Linked DNA regions of Homo sapiens: regions 2, 3 and 4 are each linked to region 1. Evidence: promoter capture Hi-C in 16 types of primary human blood cells and fetal thymus (Javierre and others, 2016). All regions are on one chromosome and are shown on one strand. Each heading gives the region's core, a stretch centred on a gene start or on the middle of the fragment in contact. The rest is flanking DNA. Distances are from core to core; before and after follow the strand shown. Region 1 holds the start of SIGLEC14 (sialic acid binding Ig like lectin 14). Region 2 holds the start of KIR3DL3 (killer cell immunoglobulin like receptor, three Ig domains and long cytoplasmic tail 3). Region 3 overlaps ZSCAN5A-AS1 (ZSCAN5A antisense RNA 1). Region 4 holds the start of NCR1 (natural cytotoxicity triggering receptor 1).

Region 1 (5,379 bases), core at 2,880-5,379:
GCTGAGGAGACCAGAAATTCAAGTGTTAAGAAGGTAACTTTTGGCAGCCAGGCACGGTGGCTCATACCTGTAATGCCAGCACTTTGGGAGGCCAATGCAGTGGATTGCTTGAGGTCAGGAGTTCGAGACCTGGCCAACATGGTAAAACCCCATCTCTACTAACATACAAAAAAAAAAAATTAACTGGATGTGGTGGCAGGCACCTGTAATCCCAGCTACTAGGGAGGCTGAGGCAGGAGAATTGCTTGAACCCCAGAGGTGGAGGTTGCAGTGAACGGAGATTGTGCCACTGAACTCCAGCCTGTGCAACAGAGTGAGACTCTGTCTCAAAAAAAAAAAAAAAAAAAAAAGGTAACTTTTGGGTAATGGGTAATGGGGGTATAAGACCGAAAGTACATTCCCTTCACAGGGCTGGAGATGGTGGATGGAGAGGGAAGAGAAGGGCAGGTGGAGAGGGGATGGGGTGCAGATGGGGATGCAGGTGTGGTGGGGCAAGACTCACAAGCAGAGGGGAATAAGTAGAAGGGGTATGGGGCAGGAAGGAAAAGAGGGGTAGTCAGTGGGATGTGAGCTTCCAGAAAGAAGCTGACAGTGATGTCCTGCATGTGTCCCACAGGGCTAAGTGTCCACACCTCAGTTCTGTCTTGAGCGGGAGGGGCTCAGCCAGGCCTCTCAGCCCTGCTCTGCTGGGGGCCTCCACACCTGCAGAGCCAACATGGGCCTCAGATCAGCACCAGCCACTTCAGTTCTAATTCCAGGTGGGGCTGAGCTGTCCTGGGGCAGGACAGCTCAGCCCCACCTGGAACTCAGGAGCTTCCTGGAGACAGGCAGTCCGGCTCACCTGGTATAGTAGATCCAGGTGAGGCCATAGGTGAGGAGGAAGCCAGCCCCCATGAGAGCCCCCCTGATCAGGGTGAGGACGAGGGGCCAGGAGCCCTGCTGTTTCTCAGTTACACATATGCAGGAAGAGGAGCTTCCTGGGAGAAAGGAGAAGGTAAGGTGCTGTTACCAGGCCTCAGTCCCTCCCACCAACCTGAATACCTCACCGGGCTGTCTACCCTCAGCACCTGTCCTGCAACTCACTCTGCACAGAAAGGATGAAGGACAGGTGCTGGGAGCCCAGCGGATGCTGAACCCGGCAGGTGAATTCCCCTCCCTCTCTAGCTCCTATGTTAGGCAGCTCCAGGGTCCCAGACATTGAGGTCTGGGAAGGATTGAGGGCTTTTCCCTCCCGGAACCAGCTCAGTGAGGCAGGGGGGTTGCTGTCAACTGTGCAGGCGAGGAACAGGGACTGGCCCTCCTGGATGGGCACCGACATGCCATTGCTCAGGATCCGCAGGGCTGGGAAAGAGAAGCACAGCCAGGTGAGTGGAGCTGGGAGGCCCAATTCTCCCTCATTCCTCCCACTGAGCTGCAAGAAGAAAGACAAGACTGTGTGGTGAGTGCTGAGAATGGGCTAGTCATGGGTGAAAGGATGAGGACTTGGTGATCAGGTCAGGCTACCAGAAAGAAGGTGGCTGAGCTGAGAAAAGACAGATGAGGAGGAGTTCTCACATTAAGGAGAAGTGGATGGGCAGCTCAGGTGCAGACGTGCCAAGAACTGAGACAGGCAGACGAGGAAAGAGGCTCCTAGATCCGCAACCTGTCAGGGAGGACCCAGAGCTCCCAAGACACGATAATGGAGGTAGAAGCAGGCTCAGATCTTTTGGAGCATTGGGTGCCAGATTGAGGGCCTTGGGCTTTATCCTGGAAAGCAAGAGGGGGCTATAAGCAAGGGAAACAGAGTTAGCACTGGATCTAGAAAGATCCTGCTGGAGCCAAGTAGGTCCCGGACTGGAGAGAAGTGGGATAGGAGGCAGGGAGGCTGGGAGGAGGCTGGGGCAATGGGCCAGGGTTGAGCACGAGACTTGAGCTGGGCCTGGAACCAAGGGGATGAGGAGGGAAGTGATGATTGGTGAAGTAAAGGTGTTAAGACTTGCGGACTCATGAAACAGCTGATGAGAAAGGGTGCTGTCTACAGCGATGTCCAGAACAGCCCTGGGATCAACAGGGAAGGAGGAGCCGAGAAGCATCCGAGGGAGGTGGCTAAATGTGCAGATCTGTGCCTCAGAGAAAGGGCTGGATATAAAGTTGTGGGAGGCATCAGGACAGGGTCAAGGAGAGATCGGATTACTCAGGAATGTGGAGGGGAAGAACTGGGTTCTGGGACAGAGCTGTGGGAGGTGGGAAAGTCGAAGGCTCCCAAAAAGGACGATCAGTTAGAGATGAAGCAGGGCATGCATCAGAGGACATCGGAGCAGGCAGAAATTCAAGAAAAGGGAACAGCGTGTCCTGAGTACTCAAACTCACAGAGACAGAAAAGTAGAATGGTGACTGCTCGGTGGCAGGAGGGGGAAGTGGAAAGTCGCTGTTCAGTGGGTACAAAGTTTCAGTTTTGCCAGATAAAAGGAGCTCTGCAGTTTGGTTTTGCAACAATGTGAACACATTTAACACTGCTGAACTGTACTCTTTAAAATGGCTAAGATGACAAATTTTGTGCTATGTGTATTTTCTCACAATGAAAAAATAAATCTGAAAAAGAGAGCAGAGAAAAGGGAGAAGCCAAAAGAAATACTAGGTCTGTTCGTGCAAGATCTTAGTGACTGGGATTGGGGGGTTGGGAGCAGGAAGGACCCAGACCCAGGGGCTGAGGGGTGAGGGAGGGTCTCCTCTCCCAATGCTGAACCCTGAGCTAATAGAAGGCTCCCATCACAGCCCCAGAGGGAAGAGGGTCTTTCCTACCTGTGCCTGTGCCATTTCTGAAGAAGATGCTGATGGCGAGGTTCTGTGGAGCATCTGGGATAGAAAGATACAGCACCAGCTTCAGAGGTGACAAGAGGGATGGGCGTGGTCCCGGGAGGGACCCAAGGAGGGGCCACAGAAACCCACCAGGTGGGGACCGCTGTCCTTCCTGCCCACACACGAGTTTTCCCTGGTTATCATTCTCTTTCTCTCTCTCTCTTCTACACACACACACACACACACACACACACCCCCCTCACTCCCACTGCCCTTGGGGACTCAGCTGTGTCCCCAGCACCACTCACAGGAGACATTGAGCTGGACAGTTCTCTCCGTGGTCACCTGAGCTCCTTGGCGTTTCACCTGACAGGTGAGGTTGGTGCCATGGTCCTCGGGCCTGGGGGTGAGGGTGAGCTCCGAGGAGCGGGTGGTCTCGGGGTCCAGGGGGCTGAGGGCATTCCCCGTCCAGGAGAATGTGAGAGGTGGTCCCGCTTCACAGGATCCTGGAAGGCTGCAGCTCAGCCTTGTGGGGCGGCCGGACTCCAGAGGCTCCAGAAAGTGGATGTCGGGTTTCTCTATCAGGGCTGAGGAGGAGACAGGGAGATACCTGGGCCCCAGGGGCTTGAGGACGTAAGGTGTGACCCCGAGAGTGGCCAGGCCTCAGGCCCCGACCTGCCCCAAGTCCTACACCTCCTCCAGCCGCCCCTGCCCAACTCCTGTCCCTGTTCTCATACGGGGGTCTCCACGTCCCAGGGTCCTCTCCTAGGGTTCCTGCCATACCTGTCACCTCCAAGTTCAGCTTATTCTGTTGGTAGCTATATTTTACATCCCTTCCTCTCTCCACGCGGAAGAAATAGCTTCCCGTGTCCTCCATTCTGGCATCTCCGATGCTCAGGGAGCAGTTCTTCTTCTGGACATCCCCAAGGAGGCGGAATCGGCCCTGGGTCTCTGGCTTCACTCTTCTGTCTGGGTTGTTTGTGGCCACAACCTCAGCGTAGTATGGGATCTCCCCGTCCCGGAACCAGTAGACGTAGAGTGGGGGAGAGGAATACCAGGATCTCCAGGGGTAAGAGAAGGAGCAGGGCACAAGGACGCACAGGCCCTCCTGCACCGTCACCGACTTCTGCACTTGCAGCTCGTACACTGGCTTCTCCTGCAGGGACCCTGGGGGGACACAGAAGCTCAGCTGCAGCTCCAGCCCCCCTTCTCACCCCTGTGCCTGTCCCTCCTCCCTCAGCTCACTCACCCCCCCACAGCAGGGGCAGCAGCAGCAGGGGCAGCATGTCTCCATCCGCCAGGGCCCCAGCCCAGTCCCAGGTCCGGCTGTCAGGGAAGGAAATGCTCCAAATGTCCAAACGTGGGGTGGGGCTGAGAAAGCCCCGACAGGAAGCCGGAGGGTGAGTGAGAGCTGTGGACGCGCACAGAAGGGGAACTTGGGCATCACGTGCTGTTGGGGTGAGGCTGGGGCTGGGAAGCCATTCTGCTCCCACCCCCACTGGACGCCGATGGTGAAGATACTGAGGCCCCCAGAGGGGCTTGTCCAGACTTGTAAGTCTAGACTCCTGAGGTCACCAGGTCCCATAGCTGCAGCACTTTCCTTATGCACCTTTGTCTACATAGGAAGGAGAACACCACTTGGCCAGCTCCCTGGGAGTCAGGGCCTCGGGACCCTCAGCGAGATGGGAGAATAAATCCTTTATGACATGATAGGAGCTGTGGTGAGGGAAGCACACGCTGGGGGTTTCAGGTGGGGAAGACTTTCCTCTTTCCAGAGGGAAGGCAAGTTGTCAGGGACAAACACATCAGGTGGACATGACCGGGTCCTTAGCAGTCAAGAGAGATGTGGTCCCCACCACCAGTTGGATTTGGGAACCTCATCTCATCCTTGTCCTTGTCCCAGGCAGCGTCAGACCCCATCCCTGATGTTGACAGCCAGATGAGGCTTGAGAGCCGGGCATTTGAAATGTGAACGTTGAGGATATGGAATACCAAGTGTGAACCCAGACCCCTCACCTACCGGCTGTTGAACTTTACAAAAGTTACCTACCCTCTCTGTGCCTCAGTTTGCTCAGCTGAAAAATGCAGACAATAATAGAATTGCTGTGTGGGGATTCAGTGAGGTCTCATGTGTAAAGTGCTTAGGACAGTGTCTGGCCCCGAGAATTCACTCATTCAACTGATGCTTCATGGGCGCCTATGGTGCACCAGGCCCCCTGTTTTAGGAGCTGGAGATACAGCAAAGGATAAACTCTTAGGATGAGAAGGTAAGTCAAAAATCCTAGTGGGGGCTCCTCTGGGCACACTGCTTATGCATACCCCTGCTCCACGAAGAACAGTAAAAAAAGAAGGCCGGGCGCAGTGGCTCACGCCTGTAATCCCAGCACTTTGGGAGACCGAGGCGGGTGGATCACGAGGTCAGGAGATCAAGACCGTCCTGGCTAACATGGTGAAACCCCGTCTCTACTAAAAATACAAAAAATTAGCCGGGCGTGGTGGCGGGCGCCTGTAGTCCCAGCTACTGGGGGGGCTGAGGCAGGAGGACGGCGTAACCCGGGAGGTGGAGCTTGCAGTGAGCCGAGATCGCACCACTGCACTCCA
Region 2 (5,481 bases), core at 2,777-5,276, 3.1 Mb after region 1:
AAAGTTTTTTGTTTTTTTTAATAACAGATGCTGACAAGATTGTGGAGAAAAGGGAACACTTATACACTCTTGGTGGGAATGTTAACTAGTTCAGCCAATGTGATAAGCAGTTTGGAGACTTCTCAAATAACTTAAAATAGAACTACTATTCAATCAAGCAATCCCACTACTGGGTATATACCAAAAGGAAGGTAATTAACTATGTCAAAAAGACACATGCACTAGTATATTCATTGCTGTGCAATTCAGAATAGCAAAGATTTGCAGTCAACCTAAGTGCTCACCAACAGTGGATTAGTTAAAGAAAATGTGCTACATATACACATGGAACATTACATGGCCATAAAAAATAATGAAATCATGTCCTTTGCAGCAACATGAATGTAGCAGGAGGTCAATCTCCTAAGTGAACTAACCCAGGAACAGAAAACCAAATACCACATGTTATCACTTATAACTGAGAACCAAACATTGAATACACATGAACATAAAGATGGAAACAACAGATACCGAGGACTACAGATGGGGGGAGGAGTAGGGAGGTATAGGCTGAAGAAACACCTGTTGGATTCTATGCTCATTGCCTGGGTGATGGCATTGTTGGAACCACAAACCTCAGAGTCACACAATATGCCTATGTAACAAACCTGCATGCATACCTTTAATCTACAGTAAAGGTTGAAGTTATTTAAAAATAGGAAGAAGAATTACCCTATACCTAAAGCTAAGATTTTTCCCTTTGAATATTCGTTTCTTCATCACTGTAGATAAGCAGGGAAAGAAAAATTATTATACTATACTAGCCTTTTATGTGACCATGAGGATTTGGGGTAGGTAGGTGGACAGCTTAGATAATTCACCAGGATATTGATACAGGCTCCATGGCTGGAAATAACCAAGGATGAGTGCTGTGTTTTGAGTGGTCTCCCCCAGAAACGTTTGTTGAAATCCTAACCCCTGGTATGTATGAATGTGAATTCATATTATATAAAAAGGAATAAATAGCCTGAGCACAGTGGCTCACACCTGTAATCCCAGCACTTTGGGAGGCCAAAGCAGGTGGATCATTTGAGGTCAGGAGTTCTGGCCAATATGGCAAAACTTCATCTCTACAAAAAAAAAATACAAAAAAAAAAATTGGCTGGGTATGGTGGCGCATGCCTGTAGTCCCAGCTACTCAGGAGGCTGAGGCAGGAATTGCTGAAACCTGGAAGGCAGAGGTTGCAGTGAGCCAAGATCATGCCACTGCACTCCAGCCTGGGTGAGACGGCAAGATATTCTGTCAAAAATAAATAAATAAAAAACAGAAGAAGAAATACAAGAATGACAGCAAACTTTGTATTCAAAACTATGAAAGTAAGAAATAGGTGGACCAACATTTTTAAAGTGCTACAAGAAAATATTTCAAACTAGAATCTTTCAACCTGAAAAGGAAAACATTTTCCTGCAATAAAGGTGCCATTAAAAATGTCTCACAATTTATTACATGAAGCATTGTTCTACAATAAATGTTAAGCTCTTGAAGCAAAGATTAATGATACCATTTAGTAACTTGAAATTCAAAAAAGTGGAAGTATCCCAAGAGGCAAATACGTGTGCAATTATTAAATGTTTCATATCAACACCCAACCTTATGCTGTCTACATAAGCTGCACTTCAAATACTAATCCACAAGATGTAAATATTGAAAGAATGACATTACATTGTCATGATAATGCCCAGTGCAAAATATGCTTCTAGTCAGTTGTATACATAGAATAGGTAAATGTTTGTAATAAAAAGTATTCCTCAATAGAAGTTTCTTAACTCAAAGAATGAAATATTTCACCATGCACATACAAAGAAGAGATATATGGAGATATGAAGAGGAGTACTTCATAATGACAAAGAGGCAAATTCATAAATAAGACATAATAATCCTAAATGCCTACACACCTAAAGCTGGAACCTCAAAACACATTAAATTAAAGGCATAATTCAAAACATAATCAATCACATCCAAATTGCAGCTAGAGATAGCAACATTCACCTCACTTCCAGAACAAGTACACAGAAAATTATTAAGCATATGAAAGACTTGAAAAACATTTGTGTAGGCGGCGGGTGCATAAGGTTGGGTGTTGATATGAAACATTTAATAATTTCAATAATCCTAGCACTTTGGGAGGCCAAAATGGGAGGATCACTTGAGGCCAGGAGTTTGAGACCAGCCTGGGCACCATAGTGAGACCCCGTCTCTATTTTTTTTAAATAAAGAAAAACATTTGAATGATTTTTTTCTTAACTGACATTTAGAAAACATCCACCTCAAATCTTCCTAATCCACAAACTTGTCTAGCACCCCTGGAACATTCACCAAAATAAATTTTTAAATGCTGAATCATAGGTAATATGATAGATGAAACAGTTGAATTAAATTATAAATGTACAACAAGGAAATGCTGGGGAAATTATCAAATATTTTAAAATTAATAAACACACATAGCAATAAACAATGAGTGGAAGAAAAACATTTCAAAGAAAGGTGGAAAATATTTTGTATCAATTAAAAATGAAAACACATCTCGGCAAATGACTGGGGATACAGATAGAACAGTGTTAAAGGAAAATAAGCCTCAAATGTCTGTGTTAGAAAAGAAGGAAGAGCTGAGTAAATAGGTAACTTTCGCTTGCAGAAATACTACACATCAGCAAATTAATTCCAAAGTAACGTCGAGGAAAAACATAAAATGGCAAGCAAATATATACGTGCATATGTACGTATATTCATAAATGACAAACAGGACAGAAAAATCAGTGACATCAATTTTGTTCCTTAGAAGAAACAGGAAAATTGACCCCAAAAAACTTTCCAGGCCACATTTGGTCATGATGGAAATATTTTGGCACTTCCTGGTTAAGCTCAACACCAACTTGCACCCAAAACCAATAATTTCATTCCTAGGTAAATATGTCTAATTAATTCAGCATATGTATGCAAGGGATCACACAGAAACACGATTATCAAGGCCCGAGTTATAAAAGAGAAAATCCGGAAACAACACAAATGTCCATGATAAAAAGAGTGGATAATTACATGTTGATAAAGTTATGTATGGACTATTAAACTGCAATCCAAAAGAATAAAATAGAACTATAAAATTCAATATGTATATGGTGTCATAGAAACACAAATGTGAGAAAAAGAAAGAAAAATACAAAATTTATATTTTTTAAAATTTGAAACAACTATATATGTGAGTGCTTAGGGTGTGTGTGTGTGTGTGTGTGTATAACCATATGTATATAAACGCACACATACGCACACATATAGAATGTCCCGGCCAGGCATGGTGGCTCACACCTGTAATCTCAGCACTTTGGGAGGCTGAAGTAGACAGATCACTTGAGGTTAGGAGTTCAAGACCAGCCTGGCCAACATGGAGAAACCTCCTCTCTACTAAAAGTACAAAAATTAGGTGGGCGTGATGGTGGGTGCCTGTAAATCCAGCTACTTAGGAGGCTGAGGCACGAGAATTGCGTGAACCTGGGAGGTGGAGGCTGCAATGAGCCGAGGTCTCACCACTGCATTCCAAACTGGGTGACGAAGTGAGATTGCGTCTCAAAAAAAAAAAAAGTTCTAAAAGTTGTGACTTGGGTGTGGCAGATTGTGACATACTGCCAGCTGCTAGAAATGCTGGGGCAGGAGGATTGCTTGAACTCTGAAGTCAAAGAACAGCCTGGGGAAAATAGCACATGAAGAAGAGTTTGAATCTCAGATAAAAACAACAAAAATACATCAAAAGTCTTTAATGTAAGCCAAGCATTCAGTCATCTCCTGTATGAGAGATTGGATCTGAGACGTGTTTTGAGTTGGTTATAGTGAAGGATGCAAGGTGTCAATTCTAGTTGGAACAATTTCCAGGAAGCCATGTTCCGCTCTTGACCAAACAGCCACTGGGCCTCATGCAAGGTAGAAATAGCCTGCATACGTCATCCTCCCATGATGTGGTCAGCATGTAAACTGCATGAGCCCCTCACAACATCCTGTGTGCTGCTGAACTGAGCTGGGGCGCAGCCGCCTGTCTGCACCGGCAGCACCATGTCGCTCATGGTCGTCAGCATGGCGTGTGTTGGTGAGTCCTGGAAGGGAATCGAGGGAGGGAGCGCTGGGGTGGAGATCTGGGCCTGGAGTGGAGATCTGGGCCTGGAGTGGAGATATGGGCCTGGAGTGGAGATATAGGCCTGGAGTGGAGATATGGGCCTGGGGTGGAGATATGGGCCTGGAGTGGAGATATGGGCCTGGAACTGTAGATATGGGCCTGAAGTAGAGATATGGGCCTGGAGTAGAGATATGGGCCTGGAACTGTAGATATGGGCCTGGAGTGGAGATATTGGCTTGGAGTGCAGATATGGACCTGGAATTGAGATACGGGCCTGGAGGTGGAGATATGGGCCTAGAGTGGAGATATGGGCCTGGAGGTGGAGATATGGGCCTGGAACTGTAGATATGGGCCTGGAGTAGAGATACGGGCCTGGAGTGGAGATGTTGGCTTGGAGTGCAGATATGGGCCTGGAATGGAGACACGGGCCTGGAGGTGGAGATACAGGCCTGGAGGTGGAGATATGGGCCTGGAGTGTAGATATGGGCCTGGAGTAGAGATATAGGACGGAGGTGGAGATATAGGCCTGGAGTGGAGATATGGGCCTGGAGTAGAGATATAGGACGGAGGTGGAGATATAGGCCTGGAGTGGAGATATGGGCCTAGAGGTGGAGATATGGGCCTGGAGTGGAGATATGGGCCTGGAGGTGATGTACAGATGGATCATCCATCATGATCTTTCTTTCCAGGGTTCTTCTTGCTGGAGGGGCCCTGGCCACATGTGGGTGAGTCCTTCCCCCAAACCTTAGGTTGTCATCTCCCCACATAAGATGATGCTCCTGAAACGGGAGGCAGGCGACACAGGGGGTTGACTGATGGGCTGACCATGGGAAGCCATGTGGGAATCTCTCATGAACTAGGAAAAGGAAGCCAGGGGAAGCTTCGCCACAGTTCTGTCCTAGCCCTCCCCGGCCTTTCTTTCCCTTGGCTGAGTCTGTGGGGACCCAGGGGGAGACTGAAGTGCTCAAAGGAGTGGTGTGCAGGGAGGAAGTGGTGTCACCGGCAGAGGAAGGGAGAGAAGCAGTGCAAGGAACAACAGGCCTCTGAGGACAAGAGCATAACTCACACCCTCCAGCGTTTCCATGACGGTAGGGGCTGCAATGTGGCTGCTGTCATTCTACCTAAGAGGTGGGGGAACCACAGTCATGACCCTGACATTCCAGATCTTCTAATAGGGGCTCAGTTGTTTATTATGGTTCATGCATTAGCTGATCATGCCCTCCATCCTGTGTCTACCTTGTGTTCTTTTATGTAAGTAATTTTGCAGTGTTAAAATCTAGTAAGAGTCGCTTCTTCAGCACCTGCTCAAAGTTCTCAGCTGACACTTGCTGTAGGGAGA
Region 3 (5,423 bases), core at 1,003-3,502, 4.7 Mb after region 1:
AGGGAATTCCCTGACCCCTTGTGCTTCCCAGGTGAGGCGATGCCTCGCCCTGCTTCAGCTCATGCACAGTGCACTGCACCGCACCCACTGTCCTGCACCCACTGTCCGGCACTCCCCAGTGAGATGAACCCAGTACCTCAGTTGGAAATGCAGAAGTCACCTGTCTTCTGCGTCACTCATGCTGGGAGCTGTAGACTGGAGCTGTTCCTATTCAGCCATCTTGGCTCCACCCGCCCTGTACTTTCATTTATAACTTGCTTGTTTTACTTAACAATGCCTCCTGGAAATTATTCCTTAACAGGTGTGAAGTTTATCTAGTTCTGTGTGTGTGCGTGTGCAGGTACATGTTGCTTTACATCCTGGTCAATATTTAGTGATTACAGATTTGTAAGTTTTTCTTTTATTCTGCAAAGTAATATGCTATTTCGTGGCTTTTTAATTTGCATTTTTGATTACTAGTTAGGCTTAGCATCTTCTTTTTTAAAACTGAAGACTAGTGAAAGTTGAATCCTGGAAGAGGGGAGAGTATAACAAGATAAATCTGTTACTGTGAAAAATTAATTGTGACAACTCAATACCTTCCAATGAGCCCAGAATCTTCTTATTCACTGGATATTCAGGTTTGCTTCTGTAAGTAACTTGCCAATATCTCATTTTTTTTTTGAAACAAGTTGTTTAATATTTATTGATTTTTCAGGAGCACTTTACACAATTAGCTTACAAATTCTCTACCACTAATAAGCATTATAGTCCCTCCTCTTAATCTAAATATAGTATAGTCCTTCTGTTTATGGTTTCTCAGCTTCTTCTTTAGGCATTGAAGACTGTTCCTTTCTGGGTGAAGGAGAATCACGTAGCAATTGGGAGCAAGATGCATCCATGTAACCCAGTACTGGAGGTCAAGATGGAGACAATCTCCACAGCCACCATGGCCTTTCCCTGAGTGCTACTATAACTCAGGAGGAAAGCCACCCAGATACTGCAGAACACCAACATGCTGAAGGTGAGACATTTGGTTTCATTGAAGATGTCAGGCGGGTTACTTTCCAGGAAGACTACAGCAAAGGTCCCCAGAACCAAGAAGCCCAAATAGCTCAAGACACAGTAGAAAACAGTGATAGAGCCCCCATTACACTGGATGATGATTATACCAGGACTATGGGTCTTTGTCTAGGGAGGAAGGAGATGTTTCCAACTAGATTCCAGAGATGGTCACTTGGATGAGGGGGCAAAGGTGACAACAGAATGAGATTTTAGGGTACCCAACAGGACCTTGGGTCCTGGCTGGCCTTGTAGCTTTCCCATCCTGCTAGCTGGCCTTGTAGCTTGGAAGGCCATGACCACAGTGAAAGTTTTGGCTGAAGCAGAAGACACAGCCACTGTGAACTGAACTGAAAAGGTGGCCTGTTCCCAGGGTTCAAAGCATATATGGAAGGAGAAAGCTTGACAGTGACGTAATGTATTTGGAGTGCAAAAATGCCTGCAGGGAATTCATTCTAAATGGGGAGAAATACAGAACAGGCCTTAGGAACAATGTGACCTGGGCATTGTCATCTTTTCATTGTAACTAATTACAGACTGCACTGGATTTGTGAGACATATGACAGCAAACCTTTTCTGTAAAGGGTAATAAATATTTACAGTTTGCAAACCAGAAGGTGTCTGTGGCAACTATTCAAGTCTTCTCTTGCAGATTGAAAGCCACTGTAAGCAATATGCAAAGGAGCAGTTGTAGCCGTATTTAGCAATATGCAAAGGAGCAGCTGTAGCCATATTTAGCAATATGCGAAGGAGCGGCTGTAGCCGCATTTAGCAATATGTGAAGGAGCGGCTGTAGCCGCATTTAGCAATATGTGAAGGAGCGGCTGTAGCCGCATTTAGCAATATGTGAAGGAGCGGCTGTAGCCGCATTTAGCAATATGTGAAGGAGCGGCTGTAGCCGCATTTAGCAATATGTGAAGGAGCGGCTGTAGCCGCATTTAGCAATATGTGAAGGAGCGGCTGTAGCCGCATTTAGCAATATGTGAAGGAGCGGCTGTAGCCGCATTTAGCAATATGTGAAGGAGCGGCTGTAGCCGCATTTAGCAATATGTGAAGGAGCGGCTGTAGCCGCATTTAGCAATATGTGAAGGAGCGGCTGTAGCCGCATTTAGCAATATGTGAAGGAGCGGCTGTAGCCGCATTTAGCAATATGTGAAGGAGCGGCTGTAGCCGCATTTAGCAATATGTGAAGGAGCGGCTGTAGCCGCATTTAGCAATATGTGAAGGAGCGGTTGTAGCCGCATTTAGCAATATGTGAAGGAGCGGTTGTAGCCGCATTTAGCAATATGTGAAGGAGCGGTTGTAGCCGTATTTAGCAATATGTAAAGGAGGAATTGCAGCCATATTTAGCCTGTGGGCCAAGATTTGCCTGCCCTTGCTCTAGATGACTTAGAGAACTCAACACCTGCCCACACTGACCCTTCCAATCTGTTCCTGGGGATTGTCTGATACTACTGTCTTGGGGAAAGTCTGAGCATTTTTCCCCTCCTCCATCCAAACCCAAAATGGACAGAGAAAACTCACTTTGTGCAAAATGGAAATCCAAATGGAAATTGGATTCCATTTGGATTTCCATTTTGCTATGGAGACTCATGCAACCTGTTCTGTGGCCAACTGGACCTAGAAGGATGGTGTTCTCTCAGAATTTGCAGGATAAAGTTACCCAAAGAGTAAACATGAGTTGAATGTCAACTTTCAGAAGGAATCATTTGAAAGCCCCCCTATCATCTTTCTGTCAGCAAAATGTCTCTCAAGGCAGTGCCTGCATTCAAAGTAGCAGTGGAGCCAGCAGGGCAGCTCTCACTGCAGACGGAATGAGAAAACTGGAGGAAGCAGAGTTCTAAGGTTAGATTGTCGGATCTCCAGGAGAACGAAGTTCAAAACCACTTTTCCTTTTCACAATTCTCTTGATTCTTCTCTTAGTATGAGTCAGGGTAGCAGGTCACATCAATGTCATGAAAGGAATACTAATGATAATAATTTAGGATATTTTTGGCTACAGCTAGAGAAATCTCAAACAAACAAGCTTAATCAGGAAAGCTTTTGACACATAGTTGGAAATGGAGGTACTTATGTGTTTCTGAAATCCTGTTTTTATTGGCTTCTCATTGGCTTTTTCATGATGGCAAAATTATACTTAGCTGTTAGAGCCTTCATATCCATGAACTACAATTTCTGTGGAATAAGAAGGAGATATACTGGAACTGAAGCTTTTGGTAACCTCGAATTTTCATTTTGGCAGGCAAACCAAAGAGAAGAAAGACTTTGTGCTTGAGAGTTGAAAATGAGACCACCTTGCCATGTCAATTCAGGTCTCTTAAAGTCTTCCCTTGCAGGAGAAGAGGGAAGTGAAAAGATCTTCTTGTGAACAGGGTCTGGTGTGGACCTCCAGCAAACTCCAACAGATTAATTCATTGACAGAATGGGATTGTCTTGTGAAAGGGAAATATCTTGGATCCCTTCAAGCTGGGAACCCCTCAGGGCAAATCTGCCTACTTCTGTCAATTCATCAATCTCATTCTCCGTCCAGTTTTGTGCCCTTGCTGGAGAGGAGTTGCCATCATTTGTCATACACAAGTATCAATAGCCAAATTGATCACGCAAAAGAAACGATATCAGAGATTGAAGATCAACTTACTAAAATAAGGCATGAAGAAAAGATTAGAGAAAAAAGAATGAAAAGGAACTAACAAAGCCTCCAAGAAATATGAGACTATGTGAAAAGACCGAACTACAGTTGATTGGTGTACCTGAAAGTGACAGGGAGAATGGAACCAAGTTGGAAAACACATTTCAGGATATTATCCAGGAGAACTTCCCCAACCTAGCAAGACAGGCCAACATTCAAATTCAGGTAATACAGAGAACACCACTAAGATACTCCTCGAGAAGAGCAACCCCAAGACAAATAATTGTCAGATTCTCCAAGGTTGAAATATATACAATATATTCAATATAAGCTCTCAGTATTTAAAATTTAGTAGGGCTTGGTGTCATTTTTAGACCCAGGAGTCAAGGCCCTGTAACTCAATGTCACAAGGACTTTAAAAGCACATACAGGAAGATAACAAATGTAATAACCTTCATTAAAAATTTTTTTAACCTCAGTTTTTTCTAAGCAATAAAACATAAAATCTTCTAGGCAGGTTACCAAAAGGCAAAAAAAAAAAAAAAAAAAAAAAAACCCTTCTGCAGTGCACAGAATATTATGTTCAAAGGAAACATTTCCTTTAGACCTTTGAGAAAACACTGTTAGCATCAGGCAACAACAACAACAAAAAACTGGAACCCAAGGAAAACAAACTTATATGACCTGAAAATGAGTTGAAGGAGAGTGTTACTATTTTGTGCCTTTTAAAAAGGGAGAGAAAACCAAAACCCGTGAGATGCAATAAAAGTTGAATTTTGGGTTAAAAATTAAAAAATAAAATATCTTATAATTTATTGAGTAAATCAACCCCTTAAGAAAATTTCATTGTTCTAACCAATTCTTTAGTGTATAAGTGTTTTCTTACATCAAACCCAATCTACAGAAACACTACTATCATTTCTCTTTATAGACAACTTAATCACATAAAAGTTTTTGATTTGCTTATTTAATAATCTTCTTATAGTGACTTATACAGACCATTCATGACATGCTTGGATTTTCTGGTTTGTTCTAAATATCACTTTTTCTTAAACAACTAGTCATTTTATTCTAGGACTAAATTTACCATACAAGATTCTTTCTCATATAAAATTATTTCTCTTTAAGCTGTCTTACAAAAAAAAAACCTCTTTCTTTTTTTTGGGGGATGCCCTTAAATAAATATTTTATTTTGTTTATATCATTGTAGATACTAGTACCCTTAGTTTAGTAAAAGAAAACTACCACATGATCTTTATTTTTAAATTCTTGGGTTAAGCTCTGGAGAATTTTCATAGGCAAATTCTGTGTGGGCTGGAACAGTAAGCACTCCAATAAAATCTATCTCCAGGAAGAATGGACCACCCACTTTATCAGCCAAGGTGAATGCTATAGAAGAGATCTTGTCAAGCAGAAGCTGACTCTGAACATCCTGCACTCTTCCTTGATTAGGGAAAAAAATTTGGAAAAAGGGATCTTGACCTCCTGCCAGTAGGAGTCCCCACGGGTGAACATGAAGTAACTATACATCTGTTTTTCCTCTGGATTATATCTGTGTCCTCCCTGATATTCATCATCCAAGGCCAACCATCCCCACATACACGGAGATACAGAGTACTGAACTGGGACCAATCATAAGACATTTTCCTAAGACATCTTCCTCTCAAAAGCACCCCCTGGAATCCTGGATATCATTGCACAGTACCCACTTCAGGTAGTCTCCCCATCCTGAGGCACCTCAGAGCTCAGAGTT
Region 4 (4,990 bases), core at 208-2,707, 3.3 Mb after region 1:
CCCGGCTAATTTTGAATTTTTAGTAGAGACAGGGTTTCTGCATGTTGGTCAGGCTGGTCTCGAACTCCCGACCTAAGGTGATCCACCTGCCTCAGCCTCCCAAAGTGCTGGGATGACAGGCCTGAGCCACCGTGTCTGGCCAGTATTTGGTTTTCTGTTTCTGTGTTAACTCGCTTAGGATAATGGCCTCTAGCTGCATCCATGTTGCTGCAAAGGACATAATCTTGTGATTTTTCAAGGCTGTATAGCGTTCTGTGGTGTATACATATCACATTGTCTTTATCCAGTCCACCTCTGATGGGACCTGGGTGGATTCCATGTCTTCACTATTGTGAATCCTGCTGCAATGAACATACAAGTGCATGTGTCTTTTTGGTAGAATGATTTATTTTCCTTTGGCTATATACCCAGCGATGGGATTGCTGGGCTGAATGGTAACTCTGTTTGTAGTTCTCTGAAATATCTCCAAACCAAACTGCTTTCCACAGTGGCTGAACTAATTTACACCCACCAACAGTGTATAAGTGTCCCCTTTGCTCCACAATCTCACCAGCATCTGTTAATTTCTGGCTTTTCAGTAATGGCCATTCTGACTGGTGTGAGATGGTATTGTTGAGGGATAATTTAGGAATCAGAGAGACCGAGGGGTTGAGGAGGATTTATTATTATTATTATTATTTAGGTGCACCGGCCCCAGTCAGATTAACATCCAAAAAGACTGAGGCTCGAACAGAGAGTCCGGTTACCTTTTAAGCATTTTGTGGGGTTGGGGGAGATCTGTGCAGGGGGAAGCATATTACAGAAGCAAGAAACAAAGGCAGTTATTCAATTGAGACATGCATCACATTATTCCTTACTTTTCAAGAAAAATATGTTTTACGACTTGAGGTTATCCTGTCTAGTGACCTTGCAGCCGCACGGCAAGAGAAACAGGGTCTTCACAATGCCTGGGAAAGGGAGAGATAAGGCTCACTAGCCACAGACAGAAAAACAGGCAGTTCATGTTTAAAGGACTCCACCTCTTTCTCTTCCTCGGGGGGAACTGGGTTTTCTTAAATACAACTGAGTTTTTGTTTACACATTCTGTAATTTCTTTTAATTCCTGTTCCAGTATCTCACTGTGAAACTCCCTATGTTTTTATACGATTCTCAGGGGGTTTCCTCTGGGCATGATTGGGCACAACTTCCCACAGTCAGCTCTGGGTACGACCTCCACATTGCAGAATTGAGAAGTTGACCCAGAAATGCATTTTGGGCTGAGCAGACAATTGTCAGAGTTGCTGGCTAGACCACAGATGTGTCAGAGGGACCACGGCCTTTCTGTAAGCTCATGGTCAGAGGCGGAGGGGAGTTGTGAACGTTCTGATGAAAGCAGTCAACGTGAAAGCGCTCTGGTGATGGGCGCTGGTGCTCACCCACCACTTCCTGTGTATCTATCTCCCTGGCCCGCCCGGCTCAGTCCCCACTGCTCAGCACTAGGCCGGCAGAATCTGAGCGATGTCTTCCACACTCCCTGCCCTGCTCTGCGTCGGTGAGTTCTGGCGTGGAAGGGGAATGGGATCACGGTGTGCCTGGGAGGCAACAGGTCTCATTACTCCCGTCTTCCAGGGCTGTGTCTGAGTCAGAGGATCAGCGCCCAGCAGCGTGAGTCCTTCCTTCAAAGCCCAGGGTCACTCTTCCGGATTCAGGCCAAGCTCCTTCCACCCAAGCACGGCTGGGGTGAGGGGACAGGGTGCTGGCTTCCCAGGAGAGCTTGGGGCCAGCAGCTGGGTGGAGCCTAAGGTTGGGGGGAGGGGGCTCCGCTGGAACTCCAGCCTCTGATTCCCTTCCAGAGACTCTCCCAAAACCGTTCATCTGGGCCGAGCCCCATTTCATGGTTCCAAAGGAAAAGCAAGTGACCATCTGTTGCCAGGGAAATTATGGGGCTGTTGAATACCAGCTGCACTTTGAAGGAAGCCTTTTTGCCGTGGACAGACCAAAACCCCCTGAGCGGATTAACAAAGTCCAATTCTACATCCCGGACATGAACTCCCGCATGGCAGGGCAATACAGCTGCATCTATCGGGTTGGGGAGCTCTGGTCAGAGCCCAGCAACTTGCTGGATCTGGTGGTAACAGGTAACTGTCCGGTTCTCTAACTGGAGAGTGATCTCAGTCTGCATCCGGGATGCAGCATCATCTATGAACTCTTCCAAGCCCCACTCAGACACTGCTTGTCTCGGTAGGAGGCTGGAAGGAGGGGTGATCCCCATCACAATCCTTGCCTACAAGGGGTTGTCTGCAGACCGTGTCTCTACGTCCTAGGAGCAGATGTGTCCTCAGTCAGTTTCTCCATGACACAGATTCTGAGATAGATATTTGTATGCAGGGGTATGACTGAGGAATGTCCTCAAAAACAATGCCTGTGGGCCAGGCGCAGTGGCTTACACTTTGCTTCCCTCACCCATCACAGGTGGTGGGTTTTTTTTTTTTTTATCTGTTTTGAGACGGAGTTTCGCTCTTGTCACCCAGGCTGGAGTGCAGTGGTGCAATCTCCAGTCACTGCAACCTCCACCTCCTGGGTTCAAGTGATTCTCCAGCCTCAGCTTCCCAAGTAGCTGGGATCACAGGCACCCACCACTACGCCACATTTTGTATTTTTAGTAGAGATGGGGTTTCACCATGTTGGCCAGGGTGGTGTCGAACTCCTGACCTCAGATGATCCGCCCGCCTCACCCTCCCAAAGTGCTGGGATTACAGGTGTGAGCCATCACACCCAGCCAGGTGGTGGTTTTCTAAAAAAAAAAAAAAATTAGCTTTTTTTTTTTTTTAACAATATGGTTGTTTATTATTATTATCAAGTATTATACATAGTTACATATACATACATAATTGTATGTGCTATACAATTAGGTTTGTTTATACCAGCAACACCAAAAACACATGAGCAATACTTTGTGCTAGGAAGGCTATGATGTCATCAGGCAATAGGAATTTTTCAGTTTCATTATAATCTTATGGGACCACCATCATATATGTGGTACATTGTTGGCCAAAATGTCATTATGCAGCTCACAACAGTATTTCATGTCCATTCAAATATCTTCTTTTGTGAAATGTCTATTTAAATCTTTTGCCTATTTTTAAATTGGGTTGCTTATATTTTGATTGATTAGGAAAAGTTATTTCTATATTCTGTGTCATATACTTGTGTTGAAATATATATATTTTTTGTCTGTGCCTTTTCATTTGCTCAGGGTCTTTGGACCTTGTTTGGAGGTTCTGGCAGGGGAACACAGCTACTCATTTATTCTTTTTTTTTTAATTTTTTTAGTATTTATTGATCATTCTTGGGTGTTTCTCGGAGAGGGGGATTTGGCAGGGTCATAGGACAATAGTGGAGAGAAGGTCAGCAGATAAACATGTGAACAAAGGTCTCTGGCTTTCCTAGGCAGAGGTCCCTGCGGCCTTCCGCAGTGTTTGTGTCCCTGGGTACTTGAGATTAGGGAGTGGTGATGACTCTTAAGGAGCATGCTGCCTTCAAGCATCTGTTTAACAAAGCACATCTTGCACCGCCCTTAATCCATTTAACCCTGAGTGGACACAGCACATGTTTCAGAGAGCACGGGGTTGGGGGTAAGGTCATAGATTAACAGCATCCCAAAGCAGAAGAATTTGTCTTAGTACAGAACAAAATGGAGTCTCCTATGTCTACTTCTTTCTACACAGACACAGTAACAATCTGATCTCTCTTTCTTTTCCCCACATTTCCCCTTTTTCTATTCGACAAAACCGCCATCGTCATCATGGCCCGTTCTCAATGAGCTGTTGGGTACACCTCCCAGACGGGGTGGCGGCCGGGCAGAGGGGCTCCTCACTTCCCAGACGGGGCGGCCGGGCAGAGGCGCCCCCCCACCTCCCAGACGGGGCAGTGGCCGGGCGGGGGCTGCCCCCCAACCTCCCGGACGGGGCGGCTGGCCGGGGCTTTTTTTTTTTTTTTTGAGACAGTCTCGCTGCAGTGCAGTGGTACAATCTCAGCTCACTGCAACCTCTGCCTCAGCCTCAATTCTCCTGCCTCAGCCTCCCAAGTAGTTGAGATTACAGGCATGTGCCACCACACCCGGCTAATTTTTGCATTTTTAGTAGAGACGGGGTTTCACCATGTTGACCAGGCTGGTCTCAAACTCCTGACCCAGGAGGTCGAGGCTTCAGTAAGCAAAGATAGTGCCACGGCGCTCCAGCCTGGGAAACAGAGCAAGACCCTGTATCATTTTTAAAAATGGTTTTAGACGGTAAATCTTCTATTGTGTGTATTTGACCAAAATAATAATTAAAAAAAAAAAAAAAAGCTGGCTGCCAGGCATGGTGGCAGGCCCCTGTAGTCCCAGCTACTTGGGAGGGTGAGGCAGGAGAAACGCTTGAACCCGGGAGGCGGAGGTTGCAGTGAGCCAAGATCGTGTCACTGCACTCCAGCCTGGGCGACAGAGAGAGACTCCATCTCTAAAGAAAGAAAAAAAAAAATAGCTGGCTGCTCATCACTGAGTTTCTGGTGTGGTGGCCCCACCTTCTCTCATAGAAATGTATGACACACCCACCCTCTCGGTTCATCCTGGACCCGAAGTGATCTCGGGAGAGAAGGTGACCTTCTACTGCCGTCTAGACACTGCAACAAGCATGTTCTTACTGCTCAAGGAGGGAAGATCCAGCCACGTACAGCGCGGATACGGGAAGGTCCAGGCGGAGTTCCCCCTGGGCCCTGTGACCACAGCCCACAGAGGGACATACCGATGTTTTGGCTCCTATAACAACCATGCCTGGTCTTTCCCCAGTGAGCCAGTGAAGCTCCTGGTCACAGGTGAGGAAATGCTCAATTCCCCACACCCTTCGCCGCCATGTGCTACCTGGAGCCCTGAGGGATCCCCAGAGAGTGATGGGGAGGGTGTCCAAGGGACGTCCACTTCCTGGGTGCCTGGTTGGTCATGTGAGGAAGAACACCAGAAGCAGGAAGGAGG

The links. Contacts are between HindIII fragments. The CHiCAGO score rates a contact against its expected background, and 5 or more counts as called.
Region 2: a contact is called between the fragment with the promoter of KIR3DL3 here and the fragment with the promoter of SIGLEC14 in region 1, in 2 of 17 cell types (total CD4 T cells and non-activated CD4 T cells). The highest score is 7.2, in total CD4 T cells.
Region 3: a contact is called between a fragment that was not itself captured here and the fragment with the promoter of SIGLEC14 in region 1, in 1 of 17 cell types (total CD4 T cells). The highest score is 5.1, in total CD4 T cells.
Region 4: the fragment with the promoter of NCR1 here is called in contact with the fragment with the promoter of SIGLEC14 in region 1 in 1 of 17 cell types (total CD4 T cells); the score reaches 7.7 in total CD4 T cells.

What each region holds. Positions count from the first base shown.
Region 1 is chr19:51,642,696-51,648,074 of GRCh38, forward strand. SIGLEC14 (sialic acid binding Ig like lectin 14) reads right to left here and starts at 4,130. Exons shown (of 7, transcript NM_001098612.3): 1 at 4,028-4,130; 2 at 3,562-3,945; 3 at 3,087-3,365; 4 at 2,782-2,835; 5 at 1,084-1,341; 6 at 842-977; 7 at 1-702. The coding sequence starts at 4,064. The coding sequence ends at 660. The HindIII fragment of the contact is 8,795 bases long and covers 1-5,379 here.
Region 2 is chr19:54,720,416-54,725,896 of GRCh38, forward strand. It overlaps KIR3DL3 (killer cell immunoglobulin like receptor, three Ig domains and long cytoplasmic tail 3), which reads left to right and starts at 4,027. Exons shown (of 8, transcript NM_153443.5): 1 at 4,027-4,115; 2 at 4,832-4,867. The coding sequence starts at 4,082. The HindIII fragment of the contact is 6,556 bases long and covers 1-5,020 here.
Region 3 is chr19:56,337,503-56,342,925 of GRCh38, forward strand. It overlaps ZSCAN5A-AS1 (ZSCAN5A antisense RNA 1), which reads left to right. Exons shown (of 3, transcript NR_186830.1): 2 at 803-1,003; 3 at 3,284-3,700. It also overlaps a transcript of ZSCAN5A not described here, the pseudogene VN2R18P and the pseudogene NDUFAF1P1. Among named protein-coding and RNA genes, the nearest start is that of ZSCAN5A, 25 kb to the left of the region's middle. The HindIII fragment of the contact is 1,625 bases long and covers 1,441-3,065 here.
Region 4 is chr19:54,904,691-54,909,680 of GRCh38, forward strand. NCR1 (natural cytotoxicity triggering receptor 1) reads left to right here and starts at 1,458. Exons shown (of 7, transcript NM_004829.7): 1 at 1,458-1,531; 2 at 1,609-1,644; 3 at 1,833-2,117; 4 at 4,555-4,833. The coding sequence starts at 1,498. The HindIII fragment of the contact is 17,616 bases long and covers 1-4,990 here.